2 separate regions of the Homo sapiens genome follow, and region 1 is linked to region 2. Evidence: promoter capture Hi-C in human tissues and cell types (Jung and others, 2019). All regions are on one chromosome and are shown on one strand. Each heading gives the region's core, a stretch centred on a gene start or on the middle of the fragment in contact. The rest is flanking DNA. Distances are from core to core; before and after follow the strand shown.

Evidence for each region. Contacts are between HindIII fragments. The study calls those that stand out against the background at their distance.
Region 1: a contact is called between a fragment that was not itself captured here and the fragment with the promoter of ETV5 in region 2, in 1 of the 25 tissues and cell types used here (stomach).

Annotation. Positions count from the first base shown.
Region 1 is chr3:186,976,516-186,983,550 of GRCh38, forward strand. All of the region lies in intron 2 of ST6GAL1 (ST6 beta-galactoside alpha-2,6-sialyltransferase 1), which reads left to right. It overlaps LOC124906314 (a long non-coding RNA gene), which reads right to left. Exons shown (of 3, transcript XR_007096208.1): 3 at 6,782-7,035. Among named protein-coding and RNA genes, the nearest start is that of ST6GAL1, 50 kb to the left of the region's middle. The HindIII fragment of the contact is 3,597 bases long and covers 3,403-6,999 here.
Region 2 is chr3:186,105,352-186,112,306 of GRCh38, forward strand. ETV5 (ETS variant transcription factor 5) reads right to left here and starts at 3,738. Exons shown (of 13, transcript NM_004454.3): 1 at 3,589-3,738; 2 at 473-591; 3 at 274-361; 4 at 98-145; 5 at 1-4. The coding sequence starts at 517. RefSeq lists enhancers at 2,461-2,520, 3,279-4,257 and silencers at 3,291-3,390, 3,421-4,050. The HindIII fragment of the contact is 3,753 bases long and covers 2,408-6,160 here.

The sequences.
Region 1 (7,035 bases), core at 3,951-6,450, 870 kb after region 2:
ATCTCCCGGGTTCAAGCGCTTCTCCTGCTTCAGCCTCCCAAGTAGCTGGAACTACAGGCATGTGCCCCCACACCCGGCTATTTTTTACATTTTTGGTAGAGACAGGGTTTCACCATGTTAGCCAGGCTGGCCTCAAACTCCTGACCTCAAGTGATCCACCTAGTTTGGCTTCCCAAAGTGCTGAGATTACAGGCATGAGCCACTGTGCCCGGCCTTAATTCTTATAAGACCCTTTCAAAGTAGGTGTCATTACCCTATTTTCCTGATGAAGAAATAGAGGCTCCTAGAGACTGAATGGCTTGCTTACCTTTGTATAGTTACTAACTGGTGCTGCTGGTTTATATTCTCTCCCCACGCATGTATTTCTTCAGTCACTCATATTTACCTAGTGCTTTAATGCCAGGCACTGTTTTAGGTGCTGATACCATATGAATAAAGGACACAAAAATCCTGCCAAGACCTTCTCCATTTGTGGCTTGCTTGCCAGAGGAGATCGGCTTGTTCTTTATAAAGTCTCCTGTGCTAGATGTCTCAGGGCTGGGTATAGCAGCTGCTGTGTTTATTGGCTATTGCTGAGATGAAATTCATGACCCGATTTGCTCCTCAGCCAGCAAGGCATGTGGACTTCTTTCTGTCTGCTTCCGGGGGTCTCTGAAGCCTTCTGCTGAAACTGCCCCTAGGCGAGATAGTTTATTCTGTAAGGAGTGTGACTGTGGCTCCCTCCCCCACGGCTTCTCCCCCATTTCTTTGCTTTTATCACCAGCGGTTTCCCTTAGCCACCACCGCTAGCAGAACCCTGATTTAGTTCCACGATTTAGCCCTGATAAAGGCGAGCTATTTTGGCTTCCTCTGCCCTAAGCCCCAGGGAGAATTTGGACTCAGTGTTTTCACTTGTCATTTTAGACTGTTGGCCAGAGTTTGCGGAAGAAGGCCTGTATTATTAATGCCCTTGCCGGGAACAGCTGCACCCTGCCAGGTTGTCATGTGAGACCTCTGAAAAGCTCAGAGCTACAAGGCCCACAGCTCTCCTGGGCCCACTGGGTCAGGTGGGAAATATGATCCTACAGAAACTGCAGGCAGCCAAGGAGGGCGGAAGGCAACTTGGAAGGAACTGATCAGTCTCACGCAGGAGACACAGCCGTCCTCTGAGCGCCTCAGGAGGGCTAATTCCATCCCGTGCCTCCAGGGGCCTGCTGTATTTGAAGATCTTTTAGCCTGAGGGATTTTATCACATCATATAAAAGACACATAAAATAAAAATGAAGATATTAATAATCAGTTTAATAATATTTAGAGAGCCATTATTCCTTGTAGTGGTCACTATCCTCATCACTTGAAATAGTTTTAATTTTCAGTACAAGCCTTTGAAGTGAATGGGACTTGTTATTGCCATTTAATAGATAAGAAAACAGTCTCGGCCGGGCGTGGTGGCTCATGCCTGTAATCCCAGCACTTTGGGAGGCCAAGGTGGGAGGATCACCTGAGGTCAGGAGTTCGAGACCAGCCTGGCCATGGTGAAACCCCATCTTTACTAAAAATACAAAAATTAGCCAGGCGTGGTGGCGCACACCTGTAATCCCAGCTACTTGGGAGGCTGAGGCTAGAGAATCGCTTGAACCCAGGAGGCAGAGGTTGCAGTGAGCTGAGATCATGCCACTGCACTCCAGCCTGGGTGACAGAGCGAGACTCCGTGTCAAAATAAAAATAAAAGAAAAAAGAAAAAACAGTCTCAGAGAGGTTAAGGGAATTACCCAAGGTTATGCCAGGTAGTAAAGGTAGAGGTGGAATTTGAACATAGTCTATCTAGCTGGAAGCTCCTGCCCCTTTCAGGATGCTGTGAGCCACTAGACACATCATATTTCTCTGACTCCTCCTCAGTTTATCTGTGCAGTTGGTTCCCACTCCTCTCTCTCCACGTTACTCTGTTAACAGCTTCTGGAGCCTGGTGTTCCAGGAGGGACTTGACCAGAGTTCACTATCTGCTGAGCCAGGGGTTAGCTGGGTGGATGGTGGGGCTGCAGGCCAGACCAGGAGCCAGAAAAGATGGTCTCTGGCACCCTTTCCTTTATTCACGGAAATGGCCCCTCTTCACCTCTTCGTGCTCCATCAAAGCTCCTTTTTAGTGCTGGGAGCACACCACGGAGTTTAGAGAAAACAATCTAATAATGTTATTTGCTTGCTTAGAAAACCTCCACCAGTCCCAGTTGCTTGCAGGATAAATTGGGACTAGAAATACCTCTGTCTGGAGCAGATGTCCTGTCGAAGACCATTTCTCATCACTGCAGCCCTTATACCCTGTCCCACCTCACAGCTTCTCCCCATCCCTGAACACAATGGGCCACTTTCATGACTGAGCCTTTGCACTGCTATTCTCTGTTGGGCATGCCTTGCTCTGCTTGGTGAACTCCTGTTCAAACTTCAAAACCCAGGATGAACTTTACCTTTTCTGACTTCTGACTTCCTCTAGTAGAGTTGGCACCACCTCCTCGGCCCTTAGTTTTTAATGCTTTACATGATTTTCCACCCACTAGTTTATGGTCTTTTCTCTAAGACCTCAGCAGCAGGAGCTGGGCCCTATTTATTTCTGTATCATCTGTATTTGGGGCATATTTGTGTGAACAAATGAATGAGGGCTCATTGTAAAACAAACTGTATATAAAGTGTGAGTCACAGGTGGCCCCACTTTAACTGAAATGTTAGGTTAGGTTGGGGGAATTCAGAGAAAGGAGAGGTGATACCCTGAGGCCTAGCGTTATTGATTAGTTGACCAGTGAGCTATGCACTCTGCCTGGAGCATTACTGCAAATGAGCCTAGGACCTATTGAGAGAAGGTCCCAGGGGTGAAGTAACAGTGGGAGGCCTTACAGTTGGGAAGTGAAGCTTAGGTCTTCCCTGTTCTCCAGGCCAGACTCAAACTCTGTGCCTGATCTGCTTCCCAAGAGAGGAACTCCTTGGGCAGACCTGGAGAAAAAGTGGGGATTTTGGATGGTCCCCAAAGGAGGGTAGGGGTAGAAGAGGAGTCGAAACAGAGACAGGAGGAAGTCCAAGACAAACTTTCCTTCCTTAATACATAGTGCTCGGGGGCATCCTTCTGGCTGTAGCATCTGCGTAATAGCTGCTCCTAAGAATGCAACGTGAGCTGAATTCAAACATGAATTTGGAGCCAGTACCTGAATATGTGGGTTGTTCTATGCCACCGGGCCCCCTGCCTGTTTAATTTCTCCTTCCCCTGCTGCCAAGGCTTCCGAGAAGTTGCTGTGTAGGTGCTTAATGCTTCGGAGATGGTCAGGTATGAGTTTAAATCCTGGTCTCGGGCACTTTAATTGCTAATTGTGTAGCACTGAGCAAAAATAATAGGGATGCAGCTTTTATAGCACCAATCAGGTCAGTGATGTTGGTGATACTGTTGAGAGCTTACTATGTGCCAGGCATTATGCTAAGTGGTTGATGACCATTATCTCATTTATTCCTCCGTATACCCTACAGGCAGATGCTGTCATCATTCTGAAATTCCAGATACGTAACTGAGGTTCAGAGAGGTTAAGTAAGTTGCCTGAAGCCATAAAACAAACGATGATGGAATCAGATCATGGATCCTGATATGTCACACCTTAACCATTGTGCCATTGGTCTACAATTTGCCTGATCCTAAGAATCACCTGAGACTCTTGTTAAAAGAGCAATTCCCAGGCCCTGTCTCAGATTCAGATTCAGCCCAGCTGGGGTGGAGCCTGGGGAGCAGTGGATGCAGCGGGCACCCTGGATGATACTAGGATCTGGCAAGTTTAAGAAACGCTATATTGTGCCTTCCTGCCTGTAAGTTGTGGCTCATGGTTGGCCCTCAAGAAATGTTAGCTGTTAGTATTATAATATAAATGAATTGAAAGGACAGCTTATTGTGAAAGAATATACGTCTTTAAAAAGCTTATTAGTCCTGACACTAGATTTTAAAGATAGAGGTCGGATGGGCGCGGTGGCTCACGCCTGTAATCCCAGGACTTTTGGAAGCCAAGGCAGGTGGATCACGAGATCAAGAGATCGAGACCATCCTGGCCAACATGGTGAAACCCATTCTCTACTAAAATTACAAAAAAAAAAAAAAAAAAAAAATTAGCCAGGCAAGGTGGCAAGTGCCTGTAGTCCCAGCTATTAGGGAGGCTGAGGCAGGAAAATCACTTGAACCTGGGAGGTGGAGGTTGCAGTGAGGATCACCCCACTGCACACCAGCCTGGGTGACAGAGACTCCATCTCAAAAAAAAAAAAAAAAAGATAGAAGTCAAGGGGAAATAGATTCTGGATCAATGAATCTATACTCTAATACTCTAAACTCAAAACTATCTGCAAGTGGGATGTGTGCCTTTATAGGTCCCTGTCACTAGTGGTCAAGCAATCAGTGCCATCACGTGTTGGGTGTGATGGCTGAGCTGTTCTTCAGGGACCCATTCCTCAGTCAGTGTCTGCTGTATACATGCAGCTGCAGAGGACATTTGTGCACTGAGGAGGGCTTTGGGTGTGTTAATATTCTAGAAGAGGTGGAGTAGAGCAGCTATGCAAAGCAAGGAAGAAGGCAGGAGGTGTTAAAAGAAAAACTTTAGAGAAAATAAATGTAGCAAAGTTCATCTGAGCAAAGAACCATGTGTGAATTGGACAGCACTCAGAACCAGAAGAGGTTCAGAGAGCTCTGCTGCCGCAGTGAGGACAGTGAGCTTTTGTAGGCTGAACGTGGAAAGAAGGCTAAGAAAATATATTTTATTAGAGTGGGAAGACCCTAGTTAGAGGTTAGTTGGTGGTTTCTGATTGGTGAAGCCTCTAGTTACATTTTACTGTTTACATTGATTTGGATTTTGGTTTGCTTATGTAGAAGCTCTGGTTATGGAGACAACCTCAGGCTAACGGCCTCCTTCTTATTTGCTTTAACAGAGGGATGGCAGAGGTAGAAGACAGCAGATATTTGAGGGCCATCACTACTGCCTTGTACCGTGGGTAACCTGCATGAAGTCTTCTCTGTAGCTTCAGAGCATCTAGATCCGCTGTCATGCCACCAATACACTAAGGCACTTCATTTTCCTCAGGGAGACTGATGATGTCTTGTTATCTCTTATTAGCATTCCAAGTCTTATCTTATTTTTGAATTCTCAAGGTCCATTTTTGGGCATATAAATTACTGAAGGCAGTCAGGAAATATTGTTCCATCAGAGCTGGGAGAAAGACTCAACCCTTATCCTGGTCCATTGACCTATTTCCAACCTCAGCTTTGATGACAAAACTCAGCAGAAGCTTTCTTACAGACTAAGAGCACTTTATAAAACACTGCTTAAAGCTGAAGGAAACCCTCTGAATGACCACCCTTGAATACCTCCTTTACTAAGACCCATGATTATCTGGGAGTTAGAATCCATAATAATAGCTGCCACTGTGCACAGTGATTGTGTGCTGGGTGCTTTACATCTATTTTCTCATTTAATTCTCCTAACAACTCTATGATAGCAGTCACGCTATGATACAGGTCACACTGGTATTGTTTCACAAATGAATAAACGGGCCTAGAAAATTCAACTAGATTTCCCTAGGTTAGCAGTGGAGTTGGACTTCAAACCTAGGTCTGTGTAGCTCACAAATGAACACTTATTATGCTTATACCATTTTGCCTCATTAGAATAATAGGAAGTCCTTCCTTTTTTGGTGAGGAAGAAATTTAGAGATTGGTTACCCTGACTGGTGATACAGAGCAAAGCTATGTACAAATTGCATCAAAGGGTGGCAGATCCCTACATTCCCATCTAACATCACATCATTCCTAACCTTTTTCCATGTGGATAAGCATGACCTTAGTCAAGTCATTTCTTAGTAAGATAGATTGTTGGTTGCTCGTGACTCTCAGTGAAGACCCAGTAATGCCAAGAATCATGGCAGACAGTTAGGGGGAATATGTATCTTCAACTATGGGGCAGTATGGCAAAGATATTGAGGGCCAGGAATTTGACTACTTTTGAGGAGCGATGACAACTGAGTACAGGAAGTGAGAGGAAGGGAGCATGTACCGTGTATCATTTAATCAACCTTGAGCTTGAGACCAAAGGGAACATACCCTAAGTTTAACTAGGATGGGTTTATCCAGATATAATGGCATCACATCGTAAATTGAAAAGTGTCTGTGTGTAATTCTCTCTGTCTTATTTCTTCGAGAAGGAGTTTCGCTCTTGTTGCCCAGGCTGCAGTGCAATGGTGTGATCTCGGCTCACTGCAATCTCCGCTACCCGGGTTCAAGTGTTTCTCCTGCTTCAGCCTCCCAAGTAGCTGGGATTACAGTCGCCCGCCACCATGCCCAGCTAATTTTTTTATTTTTAGTAGAGACGGGGTTTCACCATTTTGGCCAGGCTGGTCTTGAACTCCTGACCTCAGGTGATCCAGCCACCTCGTCCTCCCGAAGTGCTGGGATTACAGGCATGAGCCACCGCGCCCAGCCCCAATTCTCTCTTTTTAATAGTAATCTAATTACATTTATTTGGCTGCTTTGTTTTCTGTCTCAGGTACGCTAAGTTTGTCTCTCAAAACTCTTTGTGGGCAGGAATTGTAGTTTATATGGTAGTGATGGTTGTATTTTAATTTCACAGAGTGTCTAGCAGGTAATAATTAGCCAATAAAATGTTTCCATTCATTCACCAAATATTTACTGGATAGTTACCACGGTTTGGGCACTGGACATAAAGGTGCTAGGGATACAGTGATAATTATTACTTGGCAGTTGAAATGCTTACGGTTTTAAGGGAAGACAGACATGTAGGCACATTAAAATGACATTTTAATTTGATTAGAATATAATTGAGATTTAAGTAAAACTTATTGGGAACTCAGATGGGAAATAATGAGAAAACAAAGAGAGGGAGGCAGATTTAAGAAATATTCTGAGAGTAGAAAATAGAAGCTTGCGACCTATTCAGTTGGAATCAACACTGTTTATAGGATTGCTCTAGGGGCAGTGAGGCACTGGCGTGGACAGTGATCCAGGGGCACTCAGGGTGAGGGATGAGTTGA
Region 2 (6,955 bases), core at 2,488-4,987:
TGTGCTGGAAAATAGATTTTTATTTTAGACCTTTAAGTTTTATTAAAAAGCACAGTAAAATGTTTTATATGGAAAATAGGACATCCATGAAACTTGCCTTCAGCTAACCAAGCCTCTTGAAGTTGACTGAGATCCTGAAATAGCTCTGAAATTGAAAAAGAAGACCCCAGAATGAGGATATTTCTTTCGCTAGGGAGAAGACAGGGAAGAATCTACACGCTACTGTCACTGGGAGCAGGGAAGCCACAACATAATCAGGGAAAGCTTTACTACCTTCAGAATCGTGAGCCAGATCTGTGTCCAAAAACTTCCTCTTTCTGTCAATCACAGGCCGCCCTCTGCATTCCTCAGATCGAGATTTCTGAAAGAGGCCAACAGAAAGTGAAGGCTCAAGTGTAGTAAAGAGGTCCACAGGGGGAAGACTCATATTGGAGAGGGAGGACAAAACAAACCAAAAGCCACATAAACTTACCCCTGGGACCATAAAAGGGACTTGCTGATCATAAAACCCGTCCATGGTGCTTTCAGCGTCTCTAATACCACTTTGAGAGGTTTCAGCATTGAGTAATTTCTGGGGGAAAAGGGATCCTCCTGTAATATGAATTTGGGAGATTTTAACTAAGAGGGGGGAAAAAAAGAAATGAAACAATTTTAGACTGCCTTTTTTTTAGGGCCTGTGCAAAATTATTACCCTTCTGTGAAGTACTTAAAACCTACTCAAGGTGCAAGCTTTACACACCAATGCCGGGCTTGATTAATGGTATCAGAGGTACAGGATGTACTCCGTGCCAAATCCATTTACCCAGTCATCATTTTTTCTTTCTTATTTAAATCATTAAAATTACAGATTTGCTACTGTCTGTTCTCTACCAAAACAAAAATAAATAAATAAAATAAAATAAAAGGGTGATTTCAAGATTCTCTCATATACTCCAGGGCATTTGTAGTAGGGTTTTTAAAAAAGAGATAATTTAATTTTTGACAGTACAGTGTCAGGAAGCAGAGAAACTGGGTTTAAGTATTCCAAATTATTGGCAATTAAAGATCTGACATACATGGTGTTTCCAAAAGCATTTTGTAGGTCACTGTTAAAACACTATATATAGTTCCTGGAATAAATTGATCAGAGGTATACTTATCTTCACACACAACTCTTTATTTAAAAGAGGACTAAACAGATATAGCATCTGTAATGTCACAAATATCTCCCTGGTTACTTACAGAGATATTTGTGACATCTCCAACTTCTAAAAGAGTAAAATGTCTATGAAAAGTAATGGATTAAAAAAACTAATTCCATTGCATGTGGTACAATGCATCTCTACCAAAGGTCTTTTAAAACTTAGGCTGTTTCATATAGCGGAATCATTTTTTTCTAGACATACCCCCCCACCCCCAAATGAAACTCATTTCAGGACGGGTAAGTGTGTGAGTCTGGGGAAAAAGGGTGGGGTTAGAAGGGAGAAAACTTCTCCTAACGTGAGTGGAATAAAGTAACAATTTCAGGGAGGTACCATCTTCCTAAACACTTTTATTCTTCAAATAAAAACACCGTTAAGTCAACAAAAGGTGGAAAAACATTAATTTCACTCACTCCAGCTCTAAGCAATTCAAAATGCTTAAAGGTCAACTTCTTTTGTTTGACATATACACAATTTTAAACAGGAAACTTTTCCCCCGGTGAGCAATTCCATCCAATTTGTTTTTCACACTGTGTGTAGCATATCAAATTTTTCATAAGTGGGCAGGATACAAGGACACCCTTCACAGCCAGCATCCTCCGCAGCACTTTGGCCCAAGGAATCAGATATTTTCAAAGTCAAAGGAAAGAGAGGAGCAAAATAGCACACAGTTCATAACTTCCTAGAAAAACACTCGCGCCAGCCTGCCTGCGTGCCCCGTCCAAACACCACAAGAAATGTTCAGAATAACGCCTCTCTCAAATGCCACCAAACCGTATACAAAATCTGAGAAACCTCAGCAGTGAGTTGAGGGGCATGAAAGAGAGAGTGCTCTGTCGCTTAGGAAAATCTGTCAGATTAAATCATGGCCTAAGACATTTTGTGAATGTGTTAGGAGGAAGGGGACAACCAGTAGAAGACGGGAGGGGGAGATATTTTTCAGTCTCATGATGAAATACTTCACCCGGAAGAGCAAAAAAAATTCTAAAAAATTAAAAGAAATAAACTGCCATAAACGAACGGAAAAGAGGCATTCCAGGGTTAGAAAAATTGTATTCCAAGTATAATTTTTTTAAAAGCCTGAAGGAAAGGCTCGAGTTCATCCAGGAGTTTAAACCACTTCCTTTGCCCCCCCACCACCCGCGCCCCGGGCGCCCCCAGGAAAACTTTAGCACAGCGCAGCGGCGCGATCCAGGCCCCTCCCCTGTGGCGCGCAGCGGGCCCGGTTTTATGAATGGGAGAGCGAGCCGCGGCCGCCACATCAGGTAGAGGCTGTAACTGGATCTCTAGCGCTGGGCCCCATTCACAAAACAAGACACACTTCCACCCAATTCTCAGCCTTCCCCATTCATGAAAACTCCTTCAGCTGCGCCCCCGCCCCCATTTCCAACGCACGCCCAGCCTCCGACGCAGGCCCCTCACCCCAGCGTTTTAGGAAGAAAGCTCAATGCTTCATTCACAAAAAGGGAAGAAAAAAAAAAAAGCCGCAGGGAGCAGCGAGCCAACGAAAGAAACCCGCTTCATTCATAAAGTCACCCACATTCATAAAAACGAGGTGCGGCGCCCGGCGCTACCAACCGCTTCCAATCCCCCCACCCCCAACATCTCTCCCTGGCACCCCCTCGTCGACCAGGAGTTCGGTTCCCCCCCGAGTTTTCTCCACCCTCTGAAAATGCGGCCGGAACCCTAATCCGCTGCGAGGCTGCAGCATCTTTCGGTGCTGTCCCCTCCACACCCGTGTTATCCCCACCATCCCCAGGCCGCTGTTCCGGTGCGCCCCGATTTTCTCGAGTCGCCGCACAGCCGGACGCCCTCAGCCTGCTGGGTGGGAGCAGGGCGACTGGATGTCCACTTTCCACCACCTGAAACTTGCAAGGCCTGCGTAAGTTCCTGGTCGACCCCCGCCCCCGCAGGCTGCACTTGCCTGTGTCATTTACCCCCTCCCGGTGCTCTGGGGGGCAGCGCCTCTCAGACATTCCCCTCAAACTGCTTCCCGCCCCCTCCTCCCAACTGCGGAGCTCCGCCAAGCGTCTCTTCTCGCGAGCCTCCAAGTCCCCTCGGGGCTCTCGAATCTCCAGAGACTGTGAAAGCCTCGCAACTCCGCGATCCCCCATCCACTCGGGAGCCCCCGCACTCGCGCTCCGGGGCGCCTCCCCCACGACGTGTGGAAAGCCGCTCTCCCCGCGCTCCGGAACCGTTAGCCGCACCCGCCCGACGCCTCCCAGGAACCAAACCGGACCGGGCCGCGGGGGGAGGGGGCGGTCAACCCGGGGGGGGTCACCCCAGCTACTGCACCCCGACTTTGAAGATTCTGAATCAGCCCGTGAACTCTAGCCGGCTGGGCCTGTCGGACCAGTGGCCGGACGCCCCTTCCGATCTCCCCCCTGCCCCCGCAAAGCCCCCTCACCTGAGGCGGCCTCTCTCCTCCCCTTGCAGCGGCCCCGGCGGCGCAGGCGCGCTCACGCACGCGCGCAGCGGGCCTGGGCGCCTGGGCGAAAGGCTGGGCCGAACCGCTCCGAAGACGGTGAACCGCTCCGCGCACCAGCGGCTGGACTCTGCGCCGCAGCTGCCAACCAGGCTGGAGCGCTGGCCCGGCCCCCCGCGGCTCGCTGCTCCGCCCGCCGCCATTGGCCCGCGGCCCTAGCCCAGCCTTGTTCCCATTGGCCAGAGGCCGTTCCCGCGGCTGTCCATCACCTCTTGTTTACCCTGTCTGCGGGCAAATCCAACCAAGCCGCCCCATCAACTCCGGCCCCCATTGGCCAGCGGTGCATCTCTCTCCACCCCCTCAGGGGTCTGTTTTACATAATTTATGCACCGGGGGCCATTGGCCAATCAGCACAGGCTTGTTTATATAATGAATGTAAGGACGTTTTTCATTCATAAAAAACGCGACCTGAGGGGGAAGCTTAGCTGAGTCAGTGAAGCACTTAAAGGGGCCGAGGCCAGGAGGAGCCGCCGTTACTTCCCTTCTCGCCGCTCTCCCGACTTTTCACCGAGGCACGACTCTTCCCCCTTACCCACTCACCCCCACTTCTCCATCCAGCAAAGCCCCGACCAGAATTGGGTCTCTTGGCGCCAGACGTTCGCAGCTGCAGCACCAAGCAAAGTTATCATTTTAGAATTCAGGGGAGAGGAATTCGTCATTCCACACAAACTCGCTGACCGACCTGGGCGTTTAGCCCACAGAAACACAGAAAACGGAAACCGAGCCCTCTAATCTTAGTTACCTTTAAGAGAGGCCTTAATTTCTTTTAACCAGGTTTCCAGTGGGAAGAATAAGCAGCATCTCCTTTTAAAATCTCAGCTCTCAAACAGATTTTTGTTACTATTTTGTACTGGCAAGGCCTAAGACCCAACCAAATCCCGTTTTCTCTTTAACTGCGGCTCGTAACCTCCGCCAGAGTGGGTTCTGTAGTCGAGGTGAGACAGGGTTCGGGCTCAAAGAAATCCTCTCCGGGGACAGCAGCAGCCAGTCCACCGACCTGGAAACCTAAATCCCTCCGAAACGGGCATGCAGACTCAGACTTTTTGCCTCCCTCCCCGGGCTGCTTGTTTTCCATTTAAGTATTGAATGCAAGATGGTGTATTTGCGAATTAGATCCCGTGCAGCTGGGAACGACGAGAAGCGGCTCTGCTTGCCAAACGATAGGGCACTAACTGCAATTGCTGAGATTCTTAACAGGGTGTTCCAGGAAACAAATAAACAAACAATCCTCTCCCCTCTCCGCCCCCTTACCCCCTCCTGTGAAGGCCGTGGGGCGGCTCTATCTTCTCTCCGGGGATGCTGGGGGCCTGTGACGGAGCTCTGTTCTCGTCCTGCTGGAGTGCCCTGCCATTCACGCCGCGTGCCAGCGGTGGGGAGGAAAGATGCTAAGTGACAGGAGAGAGCCCCTAGCAATGGGGGTCCCACGGTGGCCAACTCTGGGGCAGTTCCTGCCCCTGCCACCCCCACACTTAAGTCAAAGGTTCTTTCCTATCTCCACTTGTGTCTCTTAAACAGAGCGGACACTTGGTCTGTCGTTTATAGCCCTTGAAATGTTGGCGTGCCCCTAAGCAACCTGCAGCACCCGTGTTGAGTCCTGGGCTCAGCACTGACCAGGCACGCTGGAGCTGTTGACTTTGGAAGACTGAAATGGGCATGAGTTGATGGATGGAAAGTACTCTGAACATGTAACAAGCAGTTCCTTGAGATCTAGTTTCCTGGTAGAACATTTTGCTTCCGACTCCAGTTTTCCCTTAGTGCCCTTTTTCTTTCTCCAGGTGGTACCGTTTCTGTTTGGTGGCTGGAGATCTTACACTAGTACAGTTGTGCTCTGAGCTTATTGCTGACATTCCTGAGAGCTCTATCTCCCTAGCTAGATGAAGGGCCCAGGTAAGCTCCCAGATCCTCCTCCTCCCCAATTTTGTCTACCCCCACTCCCGCTCCTCCCCATCCCATCCCATGACATCCTGCTCTCTAAACTCATTTTTCCAAAGGAGCTTTCTTACTCCTCTTCCCTTAAGTCTCTCAGGCCCCAGCCCTCCGGAAGGCTTACAGCCCACAGAGCCACATATCCTCACCATCTAAACCGTAACACATCAATCACACTTTATAACTTTGGCTACAGGAAAACAGTGCCGCACGCTTCACAGCAACTTCCTCACAGGGTTGGACCTGATGCCTGGAGTTTGGCTCTTGTGACCTTTGCCTCAAGCCAAGTCTCTCCATTCCACTTTGAAAAGAGAAGTAGGATAGTTCTGGGTTGAGTAGTAACAAATAGTGGCTCAGGTGGGGGCAGGGGAGGATTGGGCGATAGATTTTTTTTCAAAAATGCTTGTCTTGAACACGCGATCATGTGCAGGGGATTACACCAGAATAATTGCCAATTAATTATTGCGATTATTTAGTTATCCAGTAAACATGTATTTTGTACCAAATATTCAGCCAGACTTCGTGCTAGGCAAAAAAGTTGCAGAGATGAATAAGACCCAGTCTTTGCGTTGGAGGAGCCCACAGTCTGCTGTGTAACTTCAGTATCTGAAGTTTACTCAGCACTTTATATATGACTTGTTCATGCCATATATAATTCTTCACAGATTATCTCATTTAATCCTCATAATAATAGTACCAAAGTGGTCAGGCTATTAATGTCTCCATTCTATAATATATAGTTGAGAAACTGAGACACAGAGATTAAGTAGTTTGCCAATGGTCACAGAGCTTGAAAGTCAGTTGCTGAACTTGGATAGGAGCCAAGGTGGTCACATCCCAGAGCCCATATATGGGAGACCTAGCATCTGCCTCTCTTGTTCAGCGACTACCGGGAAACATCATTTCAACCCAGAGTGGTAAAGGACAGAGCTGGCCAAAGTCAAAGGAGGCAGATTTTAGCTCCAAATAGGGTTAGGAAGGACTCTGGGATGTTTGGAGTGGTCCAGCAAAGGAAGATTGTATCTGGCCCTGAGTCTTCCATCACAGGAGGCATTTATGCAGAAAGATTTAGGGATAGGGTAGAGGGACTAATGCATTTTCCAGGATAGAAGAACTCTGAGGATTGTTCCATCTCTCAGAGTCTCTGATTCTGGGAATTTGGAGGTTTGTGCTGGACAAGGGGTACAGCTCTTGGCACAGCCATCTTGGCTGCAGCATTAAAAGTCAGAGTACAGCCTGCGATGACCTGAGCCAGCTCCTGGGCCCAGGGTGGGCTCCTCATTTTTAAATATTTACTGATATCTTCTCTCCACTCTTCTTCCTTCTTCTCTTTATGATTTACCTCCCCGGCTCCTCTTCTTTT